Linked DNA regions of Homo sapiens: all the other regions are linked to region 1. Evidence: promoter capture Hi-C in 16 types of primary human blood cells and fetal thymus (Javierre and others, 2016). All regions are on one chromosome and are shown on one strand. Each heading gives the region's core, a stretch centred on a gene start or on the middle of the fragment in contact. The rest is flanking DNA. Distances are from core to core; before and after follow the strand shown. Region 1 holds the start of IFNA13 (interferon alpha 13). Region 2 has its middle 3.9 kb from the start of MTAP. Region 3 has its middle 23 kb from the start of MTAP. Region 4 overlaps LOC107987026 (a long non-coding RNA gene).

The links. The method cuts DNA at HindIII sites, captures the fragments that hold promoters and counts their contacts. A CHiCAGO score of 5 or more calls a contact.
Region 2: a fragment that was not itself captured here is called in contact with the fragment with the promoter of IFNA13 in region 1 in 2 of 17 cell types (total B cells and naive B cells); the score reaches 5.2 in total B cells.
Region 3: a contact is called between a fragment that was not itself captured here and the fragment with the promoter of IFNA13 in region 1, in 6 of 17 cell types (naive CD4 T cells, naive CD8 T cells, M1 macrophages and 3 more). The highest score is 6.1, in naive CD4 T cells.
Region 4: a contact is called between a fragment that was not itself captured here and the fragment with the promoter of IFNA13 in region 1, in 1 of 17 cell types (M1 macrophages). The highest score is 5.4, in M1 macrophages.

Annotation. Positions count from the first base shown.
Region 1 is chr9:21,366,499-21,369,981 of GRCh38, forward strand. It overlaps IFNA13 (interferon alpha 13), which reads right to left and starts at 1,559. Exons shown (of 1, transcript NM_006900.4): 1 at 874-1,559. The coding sequence starts at 1,512. The coding sequence ends at 940. The HindIII fragment of the contact is 13,511 bases long and covers 1-3,483 here.
Region 2 is chr9:21,796,991-21,800,473 of GRCh38, forward strand. No RefSeq gene overlaps it. Among named protein-coding and RNA genes, the nearest start is that of MTAP, 3.9 kb to the right of the region's middle. The HindIII fragment of the contact is 2,027 bases long and covers 743-2,769 here.
Region 3 is chr9:21,778,151-21,781,633 of GRCh38, forward strand. No RefSeq gene overlaps it. Among named protein-coding and RNA genes, the nearest start is that of MTAP, 23 kb to the right of the region's middle. The HindIII fragment of the contact is 2,776 bases long and covers 250-3,025 here.
Region 4 is chr9:21,754,895-21,758,377 of GRCh38, forward strand. All of the region lies in intron 1 of LOC107987026 (a long non-coding RNA gene), which reads right to left. Among named protein-coding and RNA genes, the nearest start is that of MTAP, 46 kb to the right of the region's middle. The HindIII fragment of the contact is 2,458 bases long and covers 285-2,742 here.

The DNA of each region.
Region 1 (3,483 bases), core at 309-2,808:
TCTGCCTGAGATTTAGGCAGAGACACAGTTCCAGACCATATTAATCACCATTGTCTCTATTTGTCCATCCCTCTGTTTCCTTTGTGGCTCTTCTCTTCCTTCCCTTTAAAGGTGGAAGGTCCTTAGAATCACGTTTAAGTCCTTTTCTCTGTCTACACTCTCTCCACACATGAGCACTTTCATTTCTGGGATTTTGCTTGCCACATATGAACTCCCAGCAATTGCATTCCTTATAATTTGCAAACTCACATATCCAACTGGCAATAGACAGTTTCTACCACATGTTGTATCAGTCAACTTATAGAGGATATCTGTTTATTTTTATTTCCTCACATGTTTCAGTTTACCTCCTGCCGAAAGAAATCATTGTTCATTCCTTTTTCTCCTTATAGTATTCAGGATAACTGATACTAAGTATGATTACTATTTTTAGTTTTATTCCATACAAAAATCAAACATGCAAGAGAGTAGGAAGTAGATTTATTGTATTCACCTTTATAACTTGAGTACAACATACAACCTGGTTTAGAGAAAGGTCATTTTTACTTACATCTCTCATATAATAATGATGAGTAAATAAATTATACCCTTTATTCTCTCATCAGGTTGCACAGTCAGGCTAGGAATTTTGTATTAAAGAATGAACACATACAGGAAGTTCCTATAGTAAAAGTTTAATGAACAACATAAAATAATGAATTGAGTAGATATAAGGAACATGTTTTATTACACTAACCACAGTGTAAAGATGCACATGATGTTATATGAACAAAAATAATTTAAATCTTATGAATAGCTAAATAAATATTTAAATAGATAAATCAGTTTATCAGCATGGTCATAGTTATAGCAGAAGTGAGAGTCTTTGAAATGGCAGAATTCATGAAAGCGTGACCTGGTATATGAGTCAATAAGAATTGTTTCATGTTGGACCAGGTGTTATTCCTTCCTCCTTAATCTTTCTTGCAAGTTTGTTGATAAAGAGAGGGATCTCATGATTTCTGCTCTGACAACCTCCCAGGCACAAGGGCTGTATTTCTTCTCTGTCAGATAGAGAGTGATTCTTCGGAAGTATTTCTTCACAGCCAAGATGGAGTCCGCATTCATCAGGGGAGTTTCTCCCACCCTCTCCTCCTGCATCACACAGGCTTCCAAGTCATTCAGCTGCTGGTAGAGTTCGGTGCAGAATTTGTCTAGGAGGTCCTCATCCCAAGCAGCAGATGAATCTTTTGTGGTAAAGAGGTTGAAGATCTGCTGGATCAGCTCATGGAGGACAGAGATGGCTGGAGCCTTCTGGAACTGGTTGCCATCAAACTCCTCCTGGGGAAATCCAAAGTCATGTCTGTCCATCAGACAGGAGGAAGGAGAGATTCTGCTCATTTGTGCCAGGAGCATCAAGGTCCTCCTGTTATCCAGGCTGTGGGTCTCAGGGAGATCACAGCCCAGAGAGCAGCTTGACTTGCAGCTGAGCACCACCAGGGCCATCAGTAAAGCAAAGGGCGAGGCCATCATAGATATTGCAGATGCTTCTGGGCTTGCTGAGATGGGTGACTCTGAACCTTGGGCTCTAGGTTCTCTGAAGGCTTTGCTTCCTGCAGATGCCTTAAATAGGGAACATACTGATTTCCACTTTCTTAATGCTTCTGGACCACTTTCCATTTCTGTTTTTGCTTTCCTTCTTGAACTCTTTACATGAGTTTAGAGCCGTGTTTCTCAACCATTTTGTTTTTCATTATTGTCTCCCCCATCTTGTTCCCAGAGACTTTTTAGATTTTTTTTCCTAATTGAACCCACCGTGAAAATTTAATAACACAGATATAATATCTATCTATTTGTGTACTATATGTATATCTCTATACTCAAAAAGTACAAAGTTTAATCATTTTATTCAATGCAAGTTTAAAAATAACCAAATGAAAATTTTAAGATAAAAGTTAAATTTAAACGCTATTCAAATTTAACTTAACTTTATAACTAAATTTGCTTGTGGGCTTCAATATAGTTTATTTACTGATATAAATTGTAATGTATTAAATTACATAAGAAATTTAACAAATTATAAACATTATCTAATGTTTCTAGATAAACATTATACAGCTAAGTAATGAATGTTTATGAATTATTTGAAACTGATAAAGACTTAATAATTTAAAATATTTTTATCATTTATTTTTATTATACTTAACTTTTAATTTTGTTGCATGTGAGAAAATTTTTAACTTCACTAGCTGCTAGATACTCACCTAGAGAGTGTGAAGAATTTTTTCTTCAATTCTTGACCTAAATATAGATGTGTTGAACAACTTCAGTAGAATTGTTAAAATATAAATTATTTATATTTCATTTCAAAGCCCACAACACAGACAGAAATGCTAAGGATCAAACATAAGCAATATCTATAAGATGGCCAGTGACAAACCATATGTATGCAGAGGACACCTCTCATGATATGACTTTGAGATCTAATACATCTTGGAAAGTACTCCAATCACAGCTACCCATTTGCCATAGGTTTGTAATGCTGAACTTTTATACCTTTTGTGTATCTTCCATGAACTCAATGTCAGTGCTTCTCATGTGATACACAAGAAAACCCAATGGAGAGAAAAAAAAAAAAACTAAGGAATAAGATTTTGTTAAATAGGTTGAGCTTTGAAGGGCCACAAACCATTTAAATATGTAAGATTTGTTCCCACTCCCAAGAACTAACTTCTACATCCTTGGGAGTAGTATCATATGCAATGAGAATACACAATTGAAAAAACATCCTCGATTTGATTAAAAATTTTTTGCATGAAAGTTCAAATTTCCAAGGTGCCTTCAGAGGTTCTTTGCTGATTCCTAGCAAACTAAAGGAAACTATCTTTGTCCTAGATGCGCATAATAGGATGTAAATATAATAACATAAATAAGTAGACAATTGTTTTACATAGCATGCCAGACACCAGATATCTTTCTTTCTCATTTCATTTTCATAGAAAGCAAAAGTTGTCACTTTTTGCATCCTAACTAATGGGAACAAAAAGATAACACAAGTGGCCGGGCGTCGTGGCTCACATGTGTAATGCCAGCACTTTGAGAGGCCGAGGCAGACGGATCATCTGAGGTTGGGAGTTTGAGACCAGCCTGACCAACATAGTGGAGGTTAAGGGGTGGGAAAGAACAGAAGCAAAATAGTAGAAGGGATGTAGGTCAAGGTAACACGTAAGTATGGGCTGGAAGAAAAGTAATTACTCCTGGTCCACAGTGTGTTTTCAGATTTACCGAACCCCATCTTGCAAATATACCAACTGCAAGAGTTTATACACAAGAAAGAGAAATTTTTGAGAGTACAATATTCTCTCTGGAAAATGGGTCAGTGTTCATTGCACCAAGCTCTCCACTATTGGATAAGTAAACTTAGAAGGTCAGTTTTTTTCTTCTTATATTTCTAGTAAGAAACAAGAGAATTGATAATTTCAGAGGACACTTCCCTAACTTTTA
Region 2 (3,483 bases), core at 506-3,005, 430 kb after region 1:
CTTCTTGGCCTCTCTGTGTAGGATTCCTTCCTTATGGGTATGAGTCAGGTCTCTCTCTGGAATGGGGGTATTATAACCCACAGTCAAACAAGATAGGTCAGACAATTTCTTCATGGCCATATTCGCATATCTTTTGGTTCTTACCCTTCACACAGAAAGGCAGAGGGAAGGTTAGAGAAATATGTTTAGGTTTTACGGCTGGCTTTAGGGAAAAGATCTTCTGGTTTCTATTATCCACCTTGGGGAAGAAGGATTCTAGTTTCTATGGTAGCATCAGGGGGATAATGGGCGTGAAAGACAGGCAGGAGAAGGTCAGAGAAAAACTTTCGCTTTTGAGGCTGCTTCTGAGGACTTCCTTTTTGGGGTGTTGTTATCTGAATCTCAACAGTGGAAAAAATAATAATTAATCAAGAGTTTAGACTTTGCAATTAGGACAGATTCAGGACTGAATCTCAATTACTTTAGTTATATAAATTTGAGAAGACTTCTTAAATGCTCTGAGCCTCATGTTCCTCATGCAATGATAGTGATAATAACACCAACACTTGTCCTTTCTCAAACATCACATCCTACCTAGAATTTAATTATCTCAATTTAAGGCTTAATACCTGTAAAATTCATAAACCCCTGGGTGAGGTAACATTTTAAGGTGATTTTGGCAACTTAACAGGTTTGATAGGTTTGATTGACATTTTGATGGGCTAGAGAGAGGGAAGTCCTGAAGATTCCAAACGGACAAGGAAGCTTTGGGGAGAGGCAAATAAGCAGAAAAGATGAAGTTACAGCAATTCAACTTCTCTCTCTCTCCTCCTCTGTAAAATGGAAATTACATTAATAGCAATGACATTAATATCTGTGAGGATTAAATGAAGAATATGTGGCTCTTAATAAATATTAGCTGTTTTGTTGTTGCTCTTGAAGATGCTCAGAAGACAAATATGACTTTGTTCCCAATTTGTTTTTAGGATTGTATGTACAGACAACATATGGATTTGCCAGAGAAGAAAAGCAATGCTTTTAGACTTATTTCCTGCCTTAAGTTTTTAAAGTGGAATAAAGAGCAGTGGGTCACATAAGAGCTCATTATATGGGTCTTTCATCATAGCTTTAGATCCTGACACGCTAAGCAGAGATTATGTTGCATCTGTGATATTAAAATACATCTGGGTATCTATTACTTTTTGGCCCTTTTCTATACAAAGCACAGAAGCTGAGAATCATGTCTCTTCAGATCAAGATTGAACATACTCTCTCTTTCACTGAGGGAGGTATAGGGTTCAGGGCTTAATCTTACACTTTGCTTATCCTATAACAGAAATAATAATACCTATTATTATTTATAATAGGTATGTGAAGATCCTGGGAGTCCAGGGTAGATGGCCATTCTGTTAACCTGAATATGCTTTTAATGTGCAGCATTAATCTAAGAAAAGTGAAAAAATGGTGAGATTTTACTTCAAAAAATCCAAATTATATGCAACTTAAGTCATCTTCAGTAGAGTTTCAGAAATGATAGGGGAGATACAATTTGAAGTGAACTTTGAAGACAAGACAAGGTGATTTGCAATGAAGGATATTTCTAGGGTAAAAGGGACTTTGAATAGAAGGAACGAATAAAGAAAACTGAAGGAGAACTTGATTCTATTGCAACAAGAAACATATGGCTAATTCCAACTATCTGGAGCATACCAACTTTAAAGCAGACTGTCAAAACTGACCCTACTTAACTCATTTTAAAGCATGGGGTTCTTCCCTCAACCAAAAACACAGATGCCAGGTTACACTTTATAACTGGACTCTCCACTTTCATTAAAGGTCATTATAAGGAATTGCCACCTAAAATGTGATGTAAATATTTTTTGAGAAACCTAGTATATCACTTGCAATTCCCTCTATAAAGTACCTGCAATAAATGCATTTTTAATATTAGATTTCAGTAATATTTTCTTCACTTGTGACATACTACTTATTTTGTTTTATCACTATGATAATGGGAGAATGGAACACTTCTCTTTGTTTTTTGTTCTTATTTCCTTAAAGTTTTAGAGTAATAGTCACATACTAACCTATAAGAAATTTAGAAAGGTTCAATTAGGCCTTCTATGACAAAAATATCTAAGTCTCTAGTTACTAAAATGTTAATGTTTATGTTGTATCATGGTCTATACTGCAGAGTCAGGGTAAAGACACATAGCTGTATTTTTTAGATCAATAATTTGTTCAGTTATTTACAATCAAGAGTGTTAAGAGAACTTGGATTGCAGACAAATCTCTTATACATTTATCCAATTATATTCAATGTTTTTTCAGAAGGGTACCTTAGGACTGGCCTGGTACATACTTGCATATCTTTTGCTTCTTAATAAACACTAGCCACTATTTTCTTTTCAGTACATTTTTTTTCCTTCTTGGGCAGGATAAAGAGAAGTTGATTATTCTGATAATTGCCTGTGGAGAAGTTTCTTTGGATACAATTTTATTAAGGGCATTGAGTCTCTGAGTTTAACTTTTTTCTTCCCAATGACCACACTGTGCACAACGATGATGTTGTGGATTTTGAACCTGAATTTATACCAGTTCAGACATCTTTGGCTTCTTCATGCTGGCATAGGCTTGCCTGGCTGAGAATCTGAAGATGCAATAATTTTTAAAATGTATTACTGTCATTATTATAATTAGTTTACTTATTGTTCCCCCAGATATTTTTTCAACAATGTTCTGCTAAATCTAGAGTGGCTGCTTGCTAATAGAACTTTAGCTTTTTCACAAAGCTTCCAATGTGGGAATCTAATCCATTGTCAAAAGTAGTGGCCAAAATGTCCCTACTCATTGTGGCTGTGATACAGGTGTATTGTAAAAAGATGTGATTCACACACCATTGGGGATCTCTAAGCACACCTCCATGTTATTTAGAATTTTTATTTTGGCCCAAATATCTACAAGGTAGTGGGGAGTTATGTGAGTTTCTTAGGCCATGACAACTTGCCAGCTTTAATACCTTCAGATGAGGATGGGTTACCAGCCAGCTTGGGCCCATTTTGTAGTACCCATCCAGGACAGACATACTGGTCAGGGGCAGAAATATAACAATTCAGTGGGAAAGCTGATATGGTTGGCTGAGGTGATACATTTCATGCATTTGTGTGAATACTTCCTCCTGAAGATTTGATGATTCTGGAATGGTTTGGAGACGACTTCAAAAATAACATGTTTAGTAAAAGGGAACTGTAGGACACTGAAGAACCACTGCTCAAGACCCAACATAGTCAGCTACTGGTGATAACCATTTCAGTACTTTGTTGGCTAGGACCTAGAAGTTGGGAAGACATTTATGAGAGATTATCAAAAAGGGAGAAGCTGTTGGAATCCTTATACTGTTTCATAATCAGAATTGTTGTAAGGTGACCTAGTTCTTGATAATTATCTTTAGAAAAGCAAGGGTACAGGTTAACAGAGGGGGATTTATAGGATAAGAACAGAAGG
Region 3 (3,483 bases), core at 388-2,887, 410 kb after region 1:
GGTATGTGATGATGAAGCAGGTTGAGGAGCTAGGTGCTTGAGGTGGTGTGAAAGGAGCCTGGGAGGTTCTGAAGCCCTTTTAAGTTGAGCTGGGGGCAGTGTCAAAAGGGAGATAGGATAATAGCCCCTCTACTGTTAACTGTAAACTGTGAGTCTCCTTTAAAATCTTTGACACAAGCAGTTAAATGGTCTGGTTCTTAAGATTTACCAAATTATGTTGCAATCAATTTTCTGTATCTGTCTGCACTAAGCTTTAAATTGCCCCAGCAGAAATCTTTTCTTATGTATCTTTTCATTTTCAGCACCTAGATTAAGAAACATTTGAGGTACTGAAGTTAACTGCTTAAAGAACCAAAGACAAGGTTTTGTTGTGCTAAAGTGAAGTAACCAAATAAGGCAACATTTTTTGTTAGCATTTCTGGATTGTAATTTTACCAGGCCGGAAGTGTTACTAAATGCACTCATATTTTTAACCACAAACAGGACTTTCCTTTTTTACTAGTTCAAAGAGTTAAAATAGTTTCTGCCAGGAATTGATGCAATAATATATGTGTTTAAGTGTTACATTAAGAAATCAATATTTCTAGCTTGCACTAAGCACATTAAGCATCCCTTAACTTAAAAGTGTGAACAGTGTGTTCGCTTGAGATTAATTTCATAAAACGAAAAGATAAATTAGATCACCTAACCTAAGGAGACAATGAGATGCCAGCATTGTCTTTAGTTCTAAACTCTGCTCTATTTGGGGCATAGATTTTTTTTTCCCTTTCTCAGAGCTTGTTGTTTGGATCAGGGAGATCTAATGCAATAAGGAAAGTAAAGAGACATTCCCTTCAAAAAATCTGCCTTCTGCTCTCAGCTTCTACAGTGAGTAGAATCCTATTGTATTTCTTATAATTATTATCTCATAAAACCAAATACCAGATGTTCAACGTGATGGTCTGCAACTTTTTTTTTTCAATCATTCTTATATGGCATATCACAATAAACCGCAAAGTTAAGAATTCATTTATAAGAAAAAATAGAAGAACAAGATAATTTTATCTGGATGAAACCAGATATAATAAAAAAGATTCAAAGAAAAATTTTCAAATACGTAAAGATTTGAAAAATCACAATTATGTAAATCAAAAAACTACAATGGAAGGGAAAATTATTTTCATCAGATGTAAAAAAAAAAGGGTTCATATCTAAATTTAAGTGTATAAGAAAATAATTCCGCCCAAGCAAGGTGGCTCACACCTTAATCTCCACACTTTGGGAAGCCAACCTGGGAGGATTGCTTGCTCCCAGGAGTTCAAGACCAGCCTTGGCGATGTAGGGAGACCCCATCTCTACAGAAAATTAAAAAATTAGCTAGGTGTGGGTGCACATGCCTGCAATCTCAGCTACTTGGAGGCTGAGGTGGGTGGATTGCCTGAACCCAGGAGATCAAGGCTGCAGTGATTCATGATTGCACCACTGCATTTCAGCTCGGATGACAGAGTGAGACTCTGTCTCAATAAAAAAGAAAAGAAAAGAATTTCAAGAGTTCAGTGGTCAAATGATATGAGCAAGACTTCACACAAGAAGAGATATAAACATTTGTTTATATCTATCAAATAATAATACAAATTCTAGTGATGACATGCTGTAAAATATTCACATAATACGATATTGTAACTTAGGGCAACCATTTTAGAAAGTTTTATTGAAATGTCATTCTTCTAAAAGTTCACATTTTATCTTTAGCAATTATGTTCCTTAAGCAAAAAACAATAGAATTAATATAAATTTTCCAACATGTTCCTTGTGATATTACTTTACAGTTATGAAATATAATTATATTTTGCCTCACTCAAAAACAAGGGTAAATCTGAGTGCCGTCTTGCATATATAATAAAATAATAGTAGGAACAACCTGTACATATTACAACAAAAGTATCGTTATAATACTATAAAAGGTATGTGGCATTCTTGCACTATTGCAGGAAATGATGCAACAACTTGATGGAGCTATTAAAAGTAACACATGAAGTCTATATAGCCAAATCAAAAAGATATTTATGCAGAAAAAAGAAAAAATAAGTTTAAAATTGCATGTGTACAGAGATTACACCCCATAAACACATATAGAATTTGGATTAAGATTAAAAGGAGCTACATTCCTTGGCGATCATCAAAAAGTCAGGAAACAACAGGTGCCGGAGAGGATGTGGAGAAATAGGAACATTTTTACACTGTTGGTGGGACTGTAAACTAGTTCAACCATGGTTGAAGTCAGTGTGGCGATTCCTCAAGGATCTAGAACTAGAAATACCATTTGACCCAGCCATCCCATTACTGGGTATATACCCAAAGGATTATAAATCATGCTGCTATAAAGACACATGCACACATATGTTTACTGCAGCACTATTCACAATAGCAAAGACTTGGAACCAACCCAAATGTCCATCAATGATAGACTGGATTAAGAAAATGTGGCACATATACACCATGGAATACTATGCAGCCATAAAAAAGGATGAGTTCATGTCCTTTGTAGGGACATGGATGAAGCTGGAAACCATCATTCTCAGCAAACTATCGCAAGGACAAAAAACCAAACACTGCATGTTCTCACTCATAGGTGGGAAGTGAACAATGAGAACGCTTGGACACAGGACGGGGAACATCACACACCGGGGCCTGTCATGGGGTGGGGGGAGAGGGGAGAGATAGCATTAGGAGATATACCTAATGTAAATGATGAGTTAATAGGTGCAGCACACCAACATGGCACATGTATACATATGTAACAAACCTGCACGTTGTGCACATGTACCCTAGAACTTAAAGTATAATTTAAAAAGGAGCTACGTTCTTAATATATTCATTTCAAAATTGATAATAGTAGTAGCTAATATTTGCTAAGCACTTACGATGTGTCAAGCACTGTTCTAAGTACTTTGTATATTTAATCTAATATAATCCTGAAACAACCTCATTCGTTAGCTACTATTAATATCTCTATGTTATAGGTGAGGAAACTGAAGTGCAAAGAAGCTTAATAAGTTTTTTCAAGTTCACTCAGCTACAAAAGGGAATAGGTGGAATTCAAACCTATGCAATGTGACCTCATGAAAATAGAACTATAGATTATTTTTTTCATGCTGTCCTATATTATGATTGAAATATTGCTCAAATTATTTTTAAAAGAAGGAATTTTCTGTAATCTTTTCCACTCCAAAAAAGCTAAATGTGTAGAAAACATATCTCTGTAGTGCTTTACCAAATTCTGTAGTATTTCTCTAACTCTTTGAGGATTACTTAGTCTAAAAAGCACCTGGGAAAACAAGGATCAGCACTCCACATCCTAGTATCATTCCTAATAAACCAGTTTCACCTATACCTTGATTAAAGAGAGTTAATGCCACCAGCTTCCAGGAACTATCAGCTCTACCGTGCCTGTTGGGACAAAGATTATTATCATATGTTCTCATTTACCTGGTGAACACACTG
Region 4 (3,483 bases), core at 264-2,763, 390 kb after region 1:
TGTAGCTTTGCCAATGTTTTGTATTCCTGACAGTCCCATGAGTCACTGACATCTTGTCAATTACAGTAGCCAACCTCTCTACCTGTATATCTGCAGGAAATTGGCCGAGATACAAATTTAGGAAATGTAAGGTGTCATTCTTTCAGGGAAGGTACAATAGCTCCAGGAAGTGGATAAAATGATCTCTCAAAAGGAAGAAGGGGGTATCAAGTTCCCCACCCCTCCTCCTTGGTTTTCATTATGTCCCCTCATTGTTTTTTATTTCAAAATTCGAATAATGTGCAAGCTTTGATACATCCAGGTTTTTAATCCTGCCAAGAAAACATTGTACTTTTGAGATAATCAAGTAGACAGCACTACTCTTAATCTTGACAAAAAGAAAAGAAAAAATAAATAAACCACAGAGCTGATGAGAAGACCCTAAAGGACTCAGAGCTTGTAATGACACACATTATTTCCTTTAGTTTGAGTTTTTCCTTTCATGAAGAAAACTCTAAGATATACAAAAATAGTTCTTTATGGCTTGAAGCTCTTATATTGCTAATGGCTTTTGACAGTGGTATTACAGCTTGTTTAATCCAATTGAATTTGATTATTCATTCAGTAAGAAGATAAATTAGTTGACAGAGGAAATGTTTTTCAGTCACTGGTTCATATTAATGTCTGAAAATTCAGTTGTCCAGAAAAAAAGAGATAGGGGTAGAAGAGAAGCCAAAGAGATATAATTCTAATCAAGGATTTTCCTGAAATTTGAATTTGACTATGAAGAAAGTATTGATTGTGGGGAGAAATAATGTTAATTCCCTAAAACACAGGGTGAGAACTTTTTAATGGAGTACACATTACTCATCAAAATATAGTCCCAAACTATATTATCAAACATGTCTAACCCACTTTACACACATACACACACACACACACACACACACACCACCCTACGATGCAGTTATATGAATCTTTATTGTTTACTAAACATAATACATTTCCTCCTTCCCCACTTACGTGCCTTTGCACATTGTATTCTTTGTATCCTCTTCCTAGAATGCTCTTCTTTAAATTGATAAACTTATCCTTCAAAATGCAACAAAAATACCACCTTTTCAATGAAGTCCTTCAGAATCCCCCCAGTGTCCCATAGAAATTTGCATATCCTCTTAATTCAATGTCCTGCAACCTTCTTTGCACATTAGCACCCCTGGGATTTGGCATGATCCTATCAGTAATGCTGTCTCAGTGGGGTTTTATATGAGAAGGGGCTTTCTATGGGTGAGGCAACAATGGTTCTCTCTTGTGAGGTTGAAATTTCCAGGGTATGAGTTTAATTTGAAACACCCACAACTCCCCTTCCCCACCCCTACCCCAGCATAAACTCTGGCATATCCACTTCCTATTCCATGGACAATCACTGCTTCACTGCTCCACTTATTACTGTTGTCATAACATCTTGTGAATATTTGTTTCCGCCTCTCTTTCTGATACTAGATGGTATTATTCATTTTTATGGTCAATGTTCCCCTTCTCACAGTGAAGTATTTCACATATAGGAGGTGCTCAATAAATGTTTGTTCTAAGAACAAGGGCATGAATGAATGAGTAAATGCCTGAGTAACAGAATGATTTCTAGGACATCATAGGATTCGGCATCCTTAACTGGTGAAGAGATGAACCAAAACACAGTTATACTCTTGTGCAGGGAGTGGTCTGGGTAGCTTTAATTTGTCAGTAACCCCCAGCCACATGTTGCTATTGTGTATCTGAAGTGTGAATAATCTGAATTGAGATGTGCTGTGAGTGTAAAACTTCACACTGGATTTAGGAGACAGTATAAATACCTATATATATATCTACATATATATAAAATATATCAGTATCAAAAAGCAAAACATCTCAATTTTTATGTTGATTACTTGTTGAGATATTTTGATCTATTGAGTTGAAGTATATTAGTAAAATTAATTTCACCTGTTTCTTTTTATTTTTCTAATGTGACTGGTAAAAAAAAATTGCATATGTAGCTCACATGGCATGCATTATATTATATTTCTCTTGAACAGCACTGGTCTTAAGAAATGAATCTCAGGCCCTGAATGGTTGAGTCTAACTTTGGCCCACTCAGATGAAAGTCTCTGTGCAGGCAAACGAAGGAAGTTGATGTGCACACTGATCTCCTTGAAAGTGCATTGAAGCTATACTGAAGAGCACTGGGATCAACAGTAATCTTTCAATAATTTCTGGTTCTCCACTATTTTCCAGGTATCTAATCTGATCCACACTTCTCACTGCGCTTCTTATCACATATCATTAGGTATTAGTTGTGTGCACCCTTCACCTCAGCACCAAGGCTGTGTTAGCTTCACTCTTAAGGTCCTTCACCTACTAATAACTTTCCCTTTACCGGGACAACACAGATGCTGCCCAAGCTGCAGTCTTCCTATCCCCTACCCCCAAGTATCTTACTGAGGCACCCCTTGCTATGGATTCCCATTGCACTGATAGCATTTTCAACATTATATTGTAATTTGCTGTGTGTCTCAATAACTAGCCTATAAGTTCTTTGAAGGCAGAGACTCTCACAATCAATATTTAAATGTTACACACCAAGAGAATAAATCAGTTCAGTGATGATCTAATTTGCCCATAAATTTCCATCAAACATCTGCCCTAGAGAAATCATACTTCTTTAAAAAAAAAACATATATTATCTGACATAAAGAAAACATATCAAAGCCCTAGCTGGAATCAAGCTTGATGACTAAAATCTACTTAATCCTCAAAAAGCCTTGTGTCAGGACCCACCTTCTGCAAAAGCATTACAGTTTATTATGGAAAAGCGATTGCTAAAACACGTTGGCTTCCTTTTTCCTGTCAGGAGATCTCATTCCAGTGTTAACCTGAGGAGCCTGCATATATTTGCCTTTGTCCCAGAAATATATAAGTGTTCCTGTGCTGTGGAGAATTAGGCACTGGGAAGTTAAGAGAGGGAGAGAGAGAGAGCCCAGAATTGGAGTCCCAGTCTTCTAAATGCAACCTATAGCTTGGAAATAAATTAGACTTTTAAAGACAGATATTTATTGGAGGTACTCCTAACAAATTTTTACCTACTCAAGAAACCTGAGTCATAATTCTCATATTCCATTCTGGTCTACCTAACCTCAGCACACTTATGTGACTACTAAAATTGTTTATTAACTTAAAAACTTTTTGATGGCAACAAAAAAAGAGCAGTAAAAAAATGAGAAAACATTTACATTATAAATAAAATCCAAGGCCAGGTGCAGTGGCTCATGCCTGTAATCCCAGCACTTTGGGAGGCCAAGGCAGGCAGATCACTTGAGGTCAGGAGTTTGAGACCAGCTGGCCAGTATGGTGAAACCCCGTCTCTACTAAAAATACAAAAATTAGCCAGGCATGGTGGTACACATCTGTAATCCCAGCTATTTGGGAGGCTGAGGCAGGAGAATCGCTTGAACCTGGAAAGCGGAG